Linked DNA regions of Homo sapiens: all the other regions are linked to region 1. Evidence: promoter capture Hi-C in 16 types of primary human blood cells and fetal thymus (Javierre and others, 2016). All regions are on one chromosome and are shown on one strand. Each heading gives the region's core, a stretch centred on a gene start or on the middle of the fragment in contact. The rest is flanking DNA. Distances are from core to core; before and after follow the strand shown. Region 1 holds the start of ZNF195 (zinc finger protein 195). Region 2 overlaps MRGPRE (MAS related GPR family member E). Region 3 has its middle 12 kb from the start of MRGPRE.

Region 1 (4,933 bases), core at 896-3,395:
TTCTGTTGGAAATCATCTTCCACAAAAGAACAGACCTAAGTAACTTTCTACCCTTAATCACTCTGGAGAAGAAAAAGGTATGTATGACTAGATATTTAACTTTTTTCCTGAAATTGACCTATTTCATGTCCTTTGTAAGTATTTTCTTACCTTTCAAGCTCTACTGATAAAATGTAAATTTACAATTAAAAATCCAACATTGCAGTAAGTGAATAAATTATTTCAAGGAGACACAGAGAGTGGCAGTGCCGACTGGAACACAGACACAGCTAATGACTTGTGTCAAGTCAGGCTATTCTATTCCTTGGGAGATTCTCCCACCTCCATCCTGTTCACCGAAGTGCTCACCGGCCACCCCCGATGATACACTGCACTGTGCCCCGCTGAGTGTCCCAGGTGAATTTTGCTTTACAGGTTTTGCACCATCTCACGGGGTGGAGTTTTTCTTGCTCTTTGAAACATTCTGTCTCCCTTCACAAATCTGAGAGTCCAAAGGGCAGAAATGATTTCGGTCTTTTCCCTCTGACAGGGGCATGTGATTGGCTGATCAGCCATGTGTCTCCAGGGATTGAAAGTTGGGTTGGGTGAAGACAATCTTAATGTCCTAAGTGGTTACCTCTTTAGAGGAAGAGTAGACCAGGAGATTTCTCTCAGCCCAGGGCATCCAGCTGCTCCCTGGAGAGGCCACACTTCATACCTCAGGCTGTCCTCTGAGAAATAACCCAGGGCCTGAAATTCACTAGATGCTCCAGCAGACATGGCCATGGTGGGCATCCTGTGTTATCCCTGGACAATACTGAAACTGAGGAAAAAGTCCAGAGGGTGGCTGAGAGCAAATCACCCTGTCAAGTTTCCAAAGTGGAACCTCAAACCAAAGACATTCTGGTAAGGTGTCTGTGCCTAGGGAAAATAAAAAGGAGGAGAGGCACAAAGACTTTTTACAATAGCGTCAGGGGATGATTCTCTGCTTTCCTGTCACGTGGAATGATTACAAACAGAAAACAAATCTCTTAAAAAGTGCCGTCCAGGCTGGGCGCAGTGGCTCACGACTGTAATCCCAGCACTTTGGGAGGCCAAGGCAGGCGGATCACATGAGGTCAGGAGTTCAAGACCAGCCTGGCCAACATGGTGAAACCCCGTCTCTACTAAAAATACAAAAATTAGCCGGGCGTGGTGGTGCAGGACTGTAATCTCAGCTACTCGGGAGGCTGAGGCAGGAGAATTGATTGAACCCGGGAGGCAGAGGTTGCAGTGAGCCGAGATCGCGCCACTGCACTCCAGCCTGGGGGACAGAGCGAGACTCCATCTCAAAAATAATAATAATTAAATAGCAGGCAATCCGACTGAGGTGGCTCTAGTGCCCTGGGTTCTTAGGTTAAAAAAAAAAATCTAACTCAGATGCGTTTCTTGCAAATGACTATCTTGCAGAAACAAAATTCAGGCTTCGTCAACCACAAACCTCTAATTAACTTCTGATTACAGGACCAGAAAATTTCAGCCTAGATAGCTGAAATCAGGAGATGACGTAACTGTACCGAACTAATGAATGAATGTGGTTTGCTTCCTCATGCACCTGATAAAAGCCTTTCCTTCAAGGCCGGCTGGTGGGACCTCCAAACCCAAAAAACATGGTTGGGTCCTCTGCCATTCATGAATCGCTCTTTGCTCAAATAAAACTCTTTCACATTTTTGCAAGGACTCCCTCGAGAGAAAGGAGGGACTGGGGCCCCCACGGGCTACAGATCATCCTCTTATGCACAAACCACCCACGGAGTCGGGATTCTCCCTTCCTGACTCGGGGAGACGAGGGTCTGCGGGCGAAGAGCTGCCGGGGGGACATGGCTCTGGGCTTGGGCCAAAGCCGCTCTGCAGGGATGCGCCGGGGCGCGCGGGGCCCGGCCGCCATGGTGCAGCTGGAGGGGCCTCGGGTCCGCGGAGCCCGGAACCCACCCGGGCAGCCCGGTTCCTCCCGAGCCGGTACCGCGGGTTCCAGTCCGCCCCTCCCTGTCTCTCAGGAGGCCTGGCCCCTACACTCACCATCTCCTGGCCTCCAGAGAGCCTGGCGTTTCACTTCTGGATCTCCCGGTGCCTGCGGGTCACACGACCTACGGCTAGCAGGGGACACAGAGCCGCGGGGACAGGAAGTGGAGCTCTGTCGGGACAAAGGCCCCGCTAGATCCCGGAAGCCGTCCTCTCCTCTCCAGACATGTGCCTGATTGGACAGTCCCCGCCCCTACTCCTCTGATTGGATAGGGCATCACGCCCCGCCCCCTCAGGCCCTGAGTGACAGGAGCTGTAATCAGACAATGGGCCGAATGAGACAGCAAGGACAGGTGCTGGCCGCGATCTTTTGGAGCGGGGCTTCCTGCCTGCGCTGTCCGGCCCCACCTAGAGGATATTTACATTTCATCTTGTGACTGCGGTTATGTTTATTTATAAATAATAAATATATGTTATTCACCAATGGAAAGAAGAAAATAAAGACAATCATTTTGAATTTTTATATTTTATGGCCTTCCTGGCTTTTGGTCCTTTGAACAGACAGCCTGAAATTTCAAAAAGGATTCAAGCCTCTAAGAATTAAAATGTAAGCCATGTGTGAATCTTAAATTTTCTAGTAGCCACGTTTTAAAATGTACTAAGAAACAGGTGAAGTTGATTGTAATAATTTAACCCAGTATGTAACCATTTTCCTCTATGGTCAATATACAATTGGTAAGGAAGTATATATTTTGGGGTACTAAATCTTTGAAGCTCACTCTGTATTTTACCTTTTCAGCACATTTCAGTTCAGACCAGCTGTATTCCTGTTATTCAATAGCCACACATGATCAATAGCTGCCACACTAAAGTGCAGCTCTGAGGTCTAACCTCCCTTATGTCAGGAAGTGGAGGGTCTGAAAGTCCCTTTTCAGCCAGAGGTGAGGGAACAGCCTCTTGCTACAAACATCTCTCCTCCGGTCGAAGGGTGGACGAGATGGTGATCCTAGAGAGCATAGGGGAAAGCAAAAGAAAATATCCACGGGTAGAGGACTGCTGCCCATCAATAATGGGGCCCTAAGAGGAGAGAACACATCTTCAGATCTGTCCATAGCCTTGACCTCCAACATTTAGATATGGAGGAAATAGACTAGAGGCAGACTTATCTTGCTATTTGGCCTTAGCCCTAATGATCAAGCTGTGATTGTCTGTTTCTTCCCGTGGTTGGGGGGCTGTGTGAGTAAAAGCACCAATCACATATATACATGTGTACATGCATTTCTGTATGACGGAACATTATCTTACAAAAGATCCAACTTTAAATAAGGGGGGAGAATTAGTACCTATAAAGTGCTTTCTTCTTGCAGGTAACTAGGAATCAACCTTTCATTGAATCCTGGCACCCTATCTGCCCTGGGTGCATGTATTAGTTAGCTATTGCATAACAAATCACCGAAAACTTAATAGCTCATGATTGAGTTCATCAGCCATTCACGCTGAACTCAACTGAGCTATTCTTGTCACAACTGGACTGCTTCATGTATGTATGGCCAGCTGCTGGTTGACTAGGTGGCTCTGCTTCTGGGGATGAGATGGCTATCAACAGTGGCACCTTCCTTCTCCCCACCATGGTATGTCATCCTCCAGCTGGCTAATCTCATAAAGATAGCAAGGTTCTGATAGCTTGATCTCATAAAGATAGCAAGGTTCTGAGAAACACAGAAGCATTTAAGACCTTTTGAGCCTAGGCCCAAAACTAGCACAAAAGCTGTCATATTCGCAGTTGATACGGTCTGGCTGTGTCCCCAGCCAAATCTCAACTTGAATTGTATCTCCCAGAATTCCCGTGTGTTGTGGGAGGGACCGGGGAAGGGGGTAATTGAGTCATGTGGGCGGGTCTTTCTCATGCTATTCTCATGTTAGTGAATAAGTCTCACGAGATCTGATGGGTTTATCAGGGGTTTCCACTTTTGCTTTCTCCTCATTTTTCTCTTGCCGCCACCACGAAAGAAGTGCCTTTTGCCTCCCGTCATGATTCTGAGGCCTCCCCAGCCATGTGGAACTGTAAGTCCAATTAAACCTCTTTTTGTTCGCATGTTCAGGAATGTCTTTATCAGCAGTGTGAAAACAAACTAATACAACAGTTTTCTATAGCCAGAGAAAATAGTGCCAGCCAGATGCAAAGTTTGGGAAACACATTCGGCCTCTTGATGGGAGGAGCTGTAAGAGCACACAATAAAGAGCATAGATACAGAGAGTAATGAAGCATTGCTGCTGTTTCTGCAATCAGTATTATTCTACCCTTTCTTGCAGAAGAGGTTTATATTACTGCTCCAAGTCAAGAACCTTGCCCAAAGTCCCACAGCTGCTAAGCAGCTGGGCTGGTACTCAGGATCAGCTCTGCCTGGCTCTGCAGCCCTTACTCCTGCATAGACTGCACTGCTCATACAGCTTTCCAAGGCCTGCAAGTTTCTGGAGAGTAACTCTTCTGCAATAGAGGCAGAATTCCTTTTAGATTTGGACCCATATGGTGCTGTTTACCATTGGGAATAATCAATCACCTCGAGAAATTGCAGAAGCTTCTTGGAAGGACATGGAATAATTTGAGGGAAATGGCTGATAGATGACTTTAGGAAATCAGAGCCCAACAACAGAGGAGCAATTTTAAAACAGAATGTATCCTATATGTCTGTAAATGCTTTCATTCCTTTTTGGTATTTGTAGGCTGTTCATAATTTTCAACACTGACTATAAGTACTGTGACTGAAACAACCTCTTACTCTGAAATCAAGTGACTTAAAGATACATCTGCTGAGAAGACTTTTTTTCTGCAGCAATTTATCCGAACAGCTAAGTACATCTTGGAGGTGTCCGTTGATTTTTAATAAGGAAGAGCTATTTTTCAAGCTCCTATGTGGCAAATCCCATCAGTATGCATGGAAACCAGCTACAG
Region 2 (4,933 bases), core at 619-3,118, 150 kb before region 1:
TGTCCGTGAGATGAATCTGTGCTTTTCCTCCTGGTTCTTCCTTGTTCTGGGGGAAGTTTATGTCCTGGGGCTGAAAGTGGAATTTGTGGACAGGCCACTTCCCTTTCTGTTCTTGTTTCTCCAGCTGAGGAACTGAAGTTGCTAATCACGTCCTGGAGGTGGGGAGAGAGGGCCCTGTGCAGATCCTGGGCTGGAGATAATTTGGGAGGAGGTAAGTCCCCAAGTGGGGGCTGGAGGTGCTCTAGGAGAGGTGGGTCCAGCCCCTGGGGCTCCCAGTCTCAAGGGATACCTGGACCCAGGCCTGCTGGGCACGTGCGGGAGCCTGAGGTGAACGCACTGTGTGGGCTGGGAGGGGCCCGGTGCAGCCGGATTCCAGGGTGCTGACCAGGGATCTGCGACTCACACCCAGACTCAAGAGGGGCTGGTTCAGTCATGGTCCAGAGGGAATGTCCTTCCATCACCAGCCATGGAGGCCGGAGTCAGAAATCAAAGAAAACACTCTCAGATGCCTTGGTCTGTGGCTAAGAATTGCACTGTGGACTTGGATGTGTGGCGTTGGTGGCAGTAGAATCGACAGACATTTCTCTTGGGCTCACGAGAGGCTGGACAGGCCTCAAAGCACTGGGTTCTCATATTTTACAGACCAGCAAACAGAGGCGTAGGGATGTTCAGAGATGGCCTTGGCAGCACAGTGGGGTGGCTAGCGGGGCTCAGCCCAGGCTGTGGGCTCCAAAGCCCCCACTCTAGCACCCCTGGCACATGCTCCTGGATGGCAGCCAGGCCTGGCACTCAGCGGAAGCTCGGAAACCTGTTGAGGGGTGAAGCCTGGGTTCCTTCCTCAGAGGGATCCTCTGGAGCGGGACTTGCTCAGGACAGAGGCGGGTGAACTGCCTTGGATGGGGCCGGTGTGAAGCTTTCTGGTTGCTGAAGACCTGGGTCCTGTGGGGAGACAGGGCTGCAGGCTGCTGGGTGGGGCTGTAAGAAGCCTCTCCACCCACCCAGGGTGCACCCTCCTAATATCCAGGGACACCCATGGGGCCGGCTTTTCTGAAGCTCCGAGTGAGGGTTGCATCGTCCCGGTCTGAGGTGCACGGCCTTGAGCAACTGGCTGATGATCAAGGACGGGGAGGGGGTCAAGTTTTGGGCAGTCTTCCATTTTAGGGTCAATTTAGCTTCCACAGCGGGCACAAGGCGAGCTGAGGGGATGGTTGTGTTATCTGTGGGTGCACCTGCAGCATTGAGGAAGCTGGAGTGGGAGGGGAGGTGGCCTGCGGAAAGGCCTGGACCTGCCCCTCACCTGGCGTCTGGCCTTGCTTCCTTGCTTTCCGGGGTCTCCTCACTGCAGCTGAGCAGGGAATGGGTAGCAGCAGCAGCTCTCGAGTGCCAGTGCGTGAACCGTTGGGGAGGTTTCCCAAAAATGCACGTTCCTCGGCCTTCTCCCCAGAGACCCGGCCCGCCTGCCTGGGCATGTAGAGACCTTGCCTTTCCAGCTGCCTCCCAGGGGAGCCTCATGCTCCAGACCAAGGGTCACAACTTTGACAGCACATGACCGGGTCACCCACCAAGGCCTCCTCCAGGTCCGGCTGGCCCCAGCCTCTGACCCCACCACCTTCCCCAAGTCACCCTCTTGCCTCACGGGGGCTGCAGCTGGGGTCGGGGGCCCCAGGGCTCAGGCTGCTATGTCCACCAGGCCCCGGCGGGAGGTCTCCCTGACGGCCCCCAGCTCAGCCTCGTCTCCCAGCGCTCGCTGGAGGACCAGCCGGAGGGGCAGCCTGCGGCCCTGGGCACTGCCCAGGCAGAAGTAGACGACGGGCTTGGCCGCGCAGTGCACGGCGGCCATGAGGAAGCTGAAGTGGTAGAAGTAGTGGGGGATGTACCAGAGCAGGTTCCGGGACAGCCAGTAGATGCCGAAGGGCAGGCCGCAGAAGAGGAAGAGGAGGACGGTGAGGAGGATGAGCCCAGGGAAGCCCCGGGGTGGGGGCCGCTGGGGGCCTCGCTCCACCCGCAGCAGCAGCATAAGGCTGGCCCCACACATGGTGCAACACAGCAGAGCCAGCAGCACCGCTGCCACCAGCCACAGCGTCCGGCACAAGTGGCGGCTGGGCTCCCCGAAGAACTGGGTGCAGGCGCCGCTGAGCAGCAGGTGCAGCAGCAGGCAGAGGGCCCAGGTGAGGGCGCACACACAGGTGGTCAGGTGGCGTGGGCGGCGGCACGAGTACCAGGCTGGGAAGAGGGCGGCCAGGCACTGCTCCACGCTGACGGCCGCCAGGAGACTCAGGCCCACGATGTAGCAGAAGAAGCGCAGCGTTGCCAGGCTGGTCTGCACGAAGCCCGGGAAGTCCAGCCGGCCTTGCAGCAAGTCGGGGACGATGGCCACCATGTGGCAGCCAAGGAAGATGAGATCCGCGCAGGCCACGTCCAGGAGGTAGATGGCGAAGGGGTTTCTGTAGACATTGGAGCTGAGCAGCCAGAGGACTGCCCCATTCCCCAGCAGCCCACCGAGGCCGAGCCCCTCGGTGAGGGACAGGATGATGAGGTTGAAGGCCACATCCTCCTGGGCGCCGTTGGCGGCCCCCACGTGCTGTCCAGCTTCTCTGGGCTCCATCATGGGGCGGGGGGCCAGGGGATGCTGCAGGAGTGTGTTCTGCTCGCTCTCTCTCCTGATGCCCCTGTAAACCACAACAGTTGAGTCTGGGGCTCAGGAATCCATGCCCCCTGCTCCTCCCCACATCAGGGGAGATGAGAGTTGGGTGGGTGACCAAGGGAATGGTGAGACCCTCCAGGAGAAGACCCCTCTCTCATTTCCACCCTCAGCCACCTGACCTAAGCTTCTCTTCCCTAAGACACTCAGGAGGAAGGTGTCCCCATTCCTCCCCTCCCCATGGTTACCTGGCCTCAAGAGCCTTCCGTGGGGCTGGTCCCTGTAGGCCAGGTGGGGGCAGGGACCAGGAGATGTGGGGAGAGGGTCTGAGACCCATGGGGCTCCCTGTTGCTAGTGGTGCCTTGATCCTCAGAATGGGCTTTTTTTTTTTTTTTTTTTTTTTTTTTTTGGAGATGGAGTCTGGCTCTGTTGCCCCAGGCTAGAGTGCAATGGCACCATCTCGGCTCACTGCAACCTCTGCCTCCCGGGTTCAAGTGATTCTCCTGTCTCAGCCTCCCGAAGAGCTGGGATTACAGGCGTGCATCACCATGCCCAGCTAATTTATTGCATTTTTAGTAGAGACAGGGTTTCACCATATTGGCCAGGCTGGTCTCGAACTCCTGACCTCGTGATCCGCCTGCCTTGGACTCCCAAAGAATAAAATATGACTTATTTTAAAGTCATAGGCAGAGCAGGAGGCACCGCCCATGTCTAATGAGTGGTGTGACCACAGAGGGACAGCTTACAGTGGCTGTGGGGCTTTTCGTCATCATCTTAAAGCAGCCCTCAACTCTTTGAGGCCTTTCCTTGACATCCATGAGGGGTTGTTTGCCAGTGGGCTCCCAGTCCCCAGCCCTCCAGCTTGGTCACACCATGCAGCCACATCAGGGCCACAGGAAAACTCCCTTTCCCCTGGCCATGTCCCTGCTGTCCTACAGCAGGACTCCAGCCCTCTGCAGGGTAGGGGGCACATGAGGAGGCTGCATCCTGCTCAACGTTGCCCGCCCTTTCCCCATGGGGAGAAGAGGGAGCTGTCTGATGATGGGGCTGGGAGGGGCCCTGAGCTTCCATGGCGTCTCCAGCCTCCCTCCATCCCCTCCCAAGGCAGTCGGCTCACGGGGACAGGTCCTGCGGGAGGGGTACTGAGTCCTGGGAGGCAGCACAAATCCCAGGGGACCTAGGCTGGAATCGGAGTCTTCATCACAGCTTTGCCAGAAATACAGCAAGTAATAGACTCTAGGAGACTGCCAGGTGCTCAGAGCCGGAGACATGCCTGCAGATACCCGGCCCCATGCTGCCCCTGTGGTTACCTGGCCCGTCATGTGTCTCTGAGTGCTTGGTGACCCCAGCTTCTCCTCTTGGGGTTGGGGGAGAGGGGATGGGGCCTTGCCTCTCCCCAGAGACTGGCTGGGGTCAGGGGCCGACACCAGGTGCCCCTCCCACCTTGGTGGTGGCTGGTCCTCCTGTGTCCTGGGAGGGCTGGGGTTTGGGGTGAGGAGGGTGGGGGTACAAGCAGAAACCCCCATAGCTGGTCTTAGCGGCTTCTTCCCACCTCAAGGTTGTGCTCAGAACCCCTGCTGTCTCCCTCCAGTGATAGGAGCACCCGAGACCATGCAGGGGGACGCTGCGGTGCTGGGATGCTGGGGAGAGGTGGCCCGGGGCGGGGCTATCGCTGAGCACAGAGGTGCCAGCCACCCCGTGAGGTGCTGGTCATCTCCCTCGGCTTACACCCTCAGCTCTGTGGTCTTTTGTTTGACTGGGGTGAAATGACAGCCTGAGGTTGTCCCCGCCTCAGGGGTGGGCATGGGGGTGGGGGGCTCAGTGGAGAGGAGGCCCCAGTCCCAGCACCTCAGGAAGCTGAGTCCTGCCCGTGGTCCAGTCTGAATCTCCTGCGGGTGGAGTCAAGCCTGGTTGGAGATATAGGGCTCTTCCTCCTGTCCCTGTGCTCCATCCTAGCACCCAAGGCCCCGGGAAGGCAGACCATGGGTGGGAGGTGAGGTGGTGGTGGAGGGAGCCCCACCTGGGCCAGCATCATCAGGAGGACACCCTGAGTGGGGCAGACGGGGCATCACTGCCATGGCAGGTGGGGAGATGTGGGGAGGGGGACAGATGCTCTCCTACTCAGGATAGCTTGGGGGGGTCACCAACCCTCAGGCCCAGAGGGAGGCAGAGATGAGTTTTGGGAGGTCTTAAGTCTGTTGATGGTGGACCCCCTCCCAGGCACAAGTCCCGTCCACCCATGGACGGAGCTATCTCCGGGATCTACCAGCAAGCTCCAGCCCCAAAGCAACA
Region 3 (4,933 bases), core at 1,162-3,661, 130 kb before region 1:
CCTGAGTAATAGGCACATTCAGTGGGTGAATATCTGGTCATCACAAAGTCAGTCCCATATGACTTGTTTAAGAAGCATATCAACTGCTTCCTCTGGGGTGATCCACTTGGTATTTTATAGGGAAAGTTGGGCAGTCCTCTCAGGGTAAACAGCCCTTACAGTGGTGTTTATCAGGTCCACTAGGCTGGTCATTCTCTCAGCAACAACCTTCTGTGCATTTGGATCACATATACTCATCAGCAATTATCTAATAGTGAGCTGTGGGTCTACATCAACTCAAAGATGCTCTTTCATTCTGTAGCATTTGAAATTAAGGGTACTATCCTTAAAGCAGTTACTCTTACAGTCCATTTTAGTAAAGGTTTCTTAGGAAGCTGACGATACCAATCTACAAAATGGAACAATTCCTTTACATTATACCATCTAGTTTTGTTACTTGGTTTTGCCCTTCTCCAATGTTGACTCTCTTCTAGGTAACCACAGGTTCCGGAAGTACCTTTTGCTGCCCGTAATTTTTCCTTTTGCGGGTAGCTTTGAGGCTGGTGGCCTGAGCTGAGACAAACCCACATCTGAGCTTGGTCCAGCCTTAAGGCCAAACCCAATACTCATTCACTGTCATTTTACCTATCACAGATAACAATAGCCATGGGATTGAATATTTTGCTTTTGCCTTATTAGTTTGCATTTCCTTATGCATCCAGTGAACCAACTTCCTGGAGTATGATCTATCTCTAAATTCCACTGGTGGCTTTCACCTTTAGTAACTGAATGCAGTCCAGCTGTAGCTCCTTAAGATGGGTAACCATGTGGCCACCCAGGAGTCAAAGGTTTCTCATTCCCAACCCTTTCCTTTTCTTTTTATCCATTTAGTTTTGTCTATATAATTTCTCCTTTTTAGGCAGAATGTGGGACTTGACTCTGGAGGTGGGGCTTGGTCACCAGACCAAACTGAGGACTAGCTAAAACAGGGACAAGGCAAAAGCTGGTTTCCATAAGACATGCCTGCCACTGTGCCATGTCAGTTTACCATTGCGATGGCAACACCTGATGTTACCACCCCTTTTCATGGCAATGACCTGATGACCCAGAAATTACCACCCTTTTCCTAGAAATTTCTACATAACTACTGCTTAACTCACATGTAATTAAAAGTGGGTATAAATGTGAGTGCAGAACTCTGAGCTCTGCTCTGGGCACACAGCCTATGGGGTGTCCCTGCTCTGCAAGGAGCAGCACCTTTTCTGCTGCTGTGCACTGCTGCTTCAATCAAAGTTGCTGTCTAACACCACCAGCTCATCCTTGAATTCTTTCTAGGGTGAAGCCAAGAATGCTCCTGGGATAAGCCCCAGTTCTGGGGCTCACCTGCCATGCATCACTTTATTTAAGGCAACCCTTAAATAGCCTCTAAACTAGGAAAAATTACATTTTCTTTAGGAAAAACCATATCCTCATGTTTTTATAAACCTCACCAAAAACACATCTTAGTCTTCTGCTGTTATACCTCTTGATAACCCAAATTCCCAGTGAAAAACCTAAGATTACTTAATTTAACATAATATGACTACTGGAGAGAATTTTGAGATTAAATTTATCAAATTCATCTTACCAAAGACTACTAAAGTCATGTGAACTAAAAGGCATCTTAGCTAGTTTCTGTTAGTCTGATAAATACTTACTTTTCTTTAATCCAACTGATTAGAGCTCTTTCATATAAGTTGGTAGTGAAATATCACTTTCACATGTCACATATACACATATAGGCACTCCAGGCACATAAACAGAGGCAGATCCTTTGTAATCACCCCTTAAGATTTTTTATTTACCTATTTTCAAAATTTCTCTCTAAATTTATCTAAATTACTTTAGACTACTACTAAAAAAAAAGTTACAAGAGCCAACAAAAGTTGAAGAGGAGTTACCAACCCAGGCGTTCTCAAAGGGAGAAAGAGCTGAAGCAGTGGGATACAGTGGAAGTTGAACTTCTGAGACATCAATCTGAAGAATTTCAAAAAGACAGTTTATAGAATGTAAAAATGAAAAACTTGCAGTCTCATTAGGAGTAAATCAATATTTTAAGAAAATCTTGTTCTAACCAATTCTTTAGTTTTATTATTAGTGTATTTTTAATATCAAAGTCCAATTTCTAGAAAGACTATAATAATTTCCTTTTAATTATGGCCAACTCAATAACAGAACATTTAAAAAAATAAATTCATTTTTTTATGAGCCTTATTATGACTTATACAAACCCTTCGTGACATGCTTGAACTTTCTGGTTTGTACTACACACAGCTCTTTCTTAAACAATCACTCATTTTATTTCAGGACAAAAATTTACCATACAAGATTTTTTCTCATGCAAAATTATTCTTCTTTAAATCTTTCTTAACAAAAAATACTTCTTCATATTTATAACTTTTTTCTTTTGAGACAGAATCTCACTCTGTCACCTAGGCTGTAGTGCAGTGGCACAATCTCGGCTCACTGCAACCTCCACCTCCCAGATTAAAGTGATTTTCATGCCTCAGCCTCCCAAGTAGCTGGGATTACAGGTGCCTGGCTAATTTTTTTTGTATTATATTTTTTGTATAGCCACCATGCCTGGCTAATTTTTTTTGTATTATTATTATTATTATTATTATTATTATTTTTTAGTAGAGAGGGTTCTACCATGTTGGCCAGGCTGGTCTAAAACTCCTGGATTTAAGCCATCCACCCACCTACAAAGATAATTACACAAAGATAATTATGTTTGAGGCTGGGTTTATAGTTTTATAACCTTCATGCCCAATCTTGACACCTTATAATACCTAGCAGAAATAAATATAGGACTACTAGACCAATAAATCTAAATGATAATGTATATCAGTAATTCTGAAGACATTTCTAATTTTATTTTACCAATAATGTCAAAGTCAGCTTATTTATTAAATATTTTACTTAAGTCATGTGAACTTGAAAAGCATTTGGGTTTATTTACTTAATTTATGAGTACTCCTTAACTTTAAGCCAATTTGTTACCTTATGGCCACAACACATAACAAAATACATGTACATACATATAAACACACACATACACACTCATACAAAGATCCTCTAACTTTTACTTCAGAACTCTAACCATGAGATATCAATACAAACTTATCAGTTTACCAAATAAAAACAAAAACAAAAAACAAACATGATTGGATCCAAACAGTGGTTTTTATCTTAGTAGAAAAGTAACAGCAGATTTAAAGCAGGCAGAAAGTAAAATAGAGAAATAGAGACCTTAGGAACTCTTAGTTGCAGCTCAACCTTTGGGGGTCTGAATTTTTCCTTGATGTACTTGTGCATCAGTTTAAAATGTGCAAAACAGACCATAATATGTAACCAGTGGGAGTACTAGAAAACCTGGCATGCTCTCAAAATTTTCCACTTACACAAACACTTGCAAGTAAAAGCAAGCACCATAAAACCAAATGGAATGCCCAAAAGGGGGTTGTTTTCCTTGTCTTTCCTCATTCTTAGATGAGAAGACCCTTTAAAATAGGGGTCCCCAAACCCTGGGCCACAGACCATGGCCTGTTAGGAACCAGGCCATACCACAGAAGGTGAGTGGTGGGCAAGTGAGCGGAGCTTCATCTGTATTTACAACCACTCCCCATTGCTCACATTACTGCCCGAGCACTGCCTCCTGTCAGATCAGCAATGACATTAAATTCTCATAGGAGCTCGAACCCTATTGTCAACTGTGCATATGAGGGATCTAGGTTGCATGTTCCTTATGAGAATCTGATGCCTGATGATCTGTCACTGTCTCCCACCACTCCCAGACAGGACCTTCTAGTTGCAGGAAAACAAGCTCAGGGCTCCCACTGGGTCCACATTATGGGTGAGTTGTATAATTATTTCATTATATATTACAATGTAATAATACTAGAAATAAAGTACACAATAAATGTAATGCACTTGAATAATCTTGAAACCATCCCCCCTCCCTGGTCCATGGAAAAATCGTCTTCCATGAAACCAGTCCCTGGTGACAAAAAAGTTGGGGACCACAGCTTTAGAATGCACCTCTGAACTAGAATTAGGATCCTAAACAAAACCAAAACGTGGTGCCTGAAAGGGGGTTGTTCCCCTTGTCTTTAGAAGAAGGCAATGGAGAATACTCTTTAGAATGTACCTCTGAACCAAAATTAGGATCCTAAACAACAACTTCCTTGGATAAAATAACAAAAATAAAAACAAAAAAACACCAGCTCAGAATAAACCAAGGACCATCAAGCAAATGGGAGGTCCAGGGCTCAGGAGGACTAACCAGTTCCACTGGAGGAGAAGTTCGAGATTGGGAGAGATTTCAATGGGCCCCTGCTGGTACCTTAGCTCTGGGTTCAGACAACTCCTCTGGGATTCTGAGTCGTCTCTGAGACCCCACGGGTAGGGTGCCAATTACTGTCAATGAGAAGAGTCAAACTCTGTAAAATATTTTAACAGATTTATTCTGAGTCAAATATAAGTGACCAATGGCCCACGACACAGCCTCAGGAGATCCCAAGAACATGTGCTTAGGGTGGCTGGGCTACAGCTTGATTTTATACATTTTAGGGAGACAGAAGACATCAATCAGTACATGTAAGATGTACATTGGTTCAATCTGGAAAGGCAGGACAACTTGAAGAAGAGGCTTCCAGGTCATAGGTGGATTCAAAGATTTTCTGATTGGCAACTGGTTAAAAGAGTTATTATCTAAAGACCTGGAATCAATAGACAGGGATGCCTGGGTTAAGATAAGGGGTAAAATACTTTGATTTCTATCAGGGTCTGCTATCTCATGTTGGTATCTTATGGCTACAGAATCTGTTTTGTGGGCCTTAAGGTCTCTGTTTTAATGTGAATGCTGGTCCAAACAATGGAATTTGGACAGCTGTGCCTGAATTCCAAAGGGAGG

The links. Contacts are between HindIII fragments. The CHiCAGO score rates a contact against its expected background, and 5 or more counts as called.
Region 2: a fragment that was not itself captured here is called in contact with the fragment with the promoter of ZNF195 in region 1 in 1 of 17 cell types (erythroblasts); the score reaches 7.0 in erythroblasts.
Region 3: a fragment that was not itself captured here is called in contact with the fragment with the promoter of ZNF195 in region 1 in 2 of 17 cell types (erythroblasts and M1 macrophages); the score reaches 5.5 in erythroblasts.

The regions. Positions count from the first base shown.
Region 1 is chr11:3,377,001-3,381,933 of GRCh38, forward strand. It overlaps ZNF195 (zinc finger protein 195), which reads right to left and starts at 2,146. Exons shown (of 6, transcript NM_001130520.3): 1 at 2,038-2,146. The coding sequence starts at 2,040. It also overlaps the pseudogene TSSC2. RefSeq lists enhancers at 1,847-2,410, 2,099-2,393 and a silencer at 1,852-1,921. The HindIII fragment of the contact is 5,109 bases long and covers 1-4,557 here.
Region 2 is chr11:3,226,192-3,231,124 of GRCh38, forward strand. It overlaps MRGPRE (MAS related GPR family member E), which reads right to left. Exons shown (of 2, transcript NM_001039165.4): 2 at 1-2,669. The coding sequence starts at 2,608. The coding sequence ends at 1,670. Among named protein-coding and RNA genes, the nearest start is that of MRGPRE, 3.8 kb to the right of the region's middle. The HindIII fragment of the contact is 1,915 bases long and covers 912-2,826 here.
Region 3 is chr11:3,241,878-3,246,810 of GRCh38, forward strand. No RefSeq gene overlaps it. Among named protein-coding and RNA genes, the nearest start is that of MRGPRE, 12 kb to the left of the region's middle. The HindIII fragment of the contact is 5,416 bases long and covers 1-4,933 here.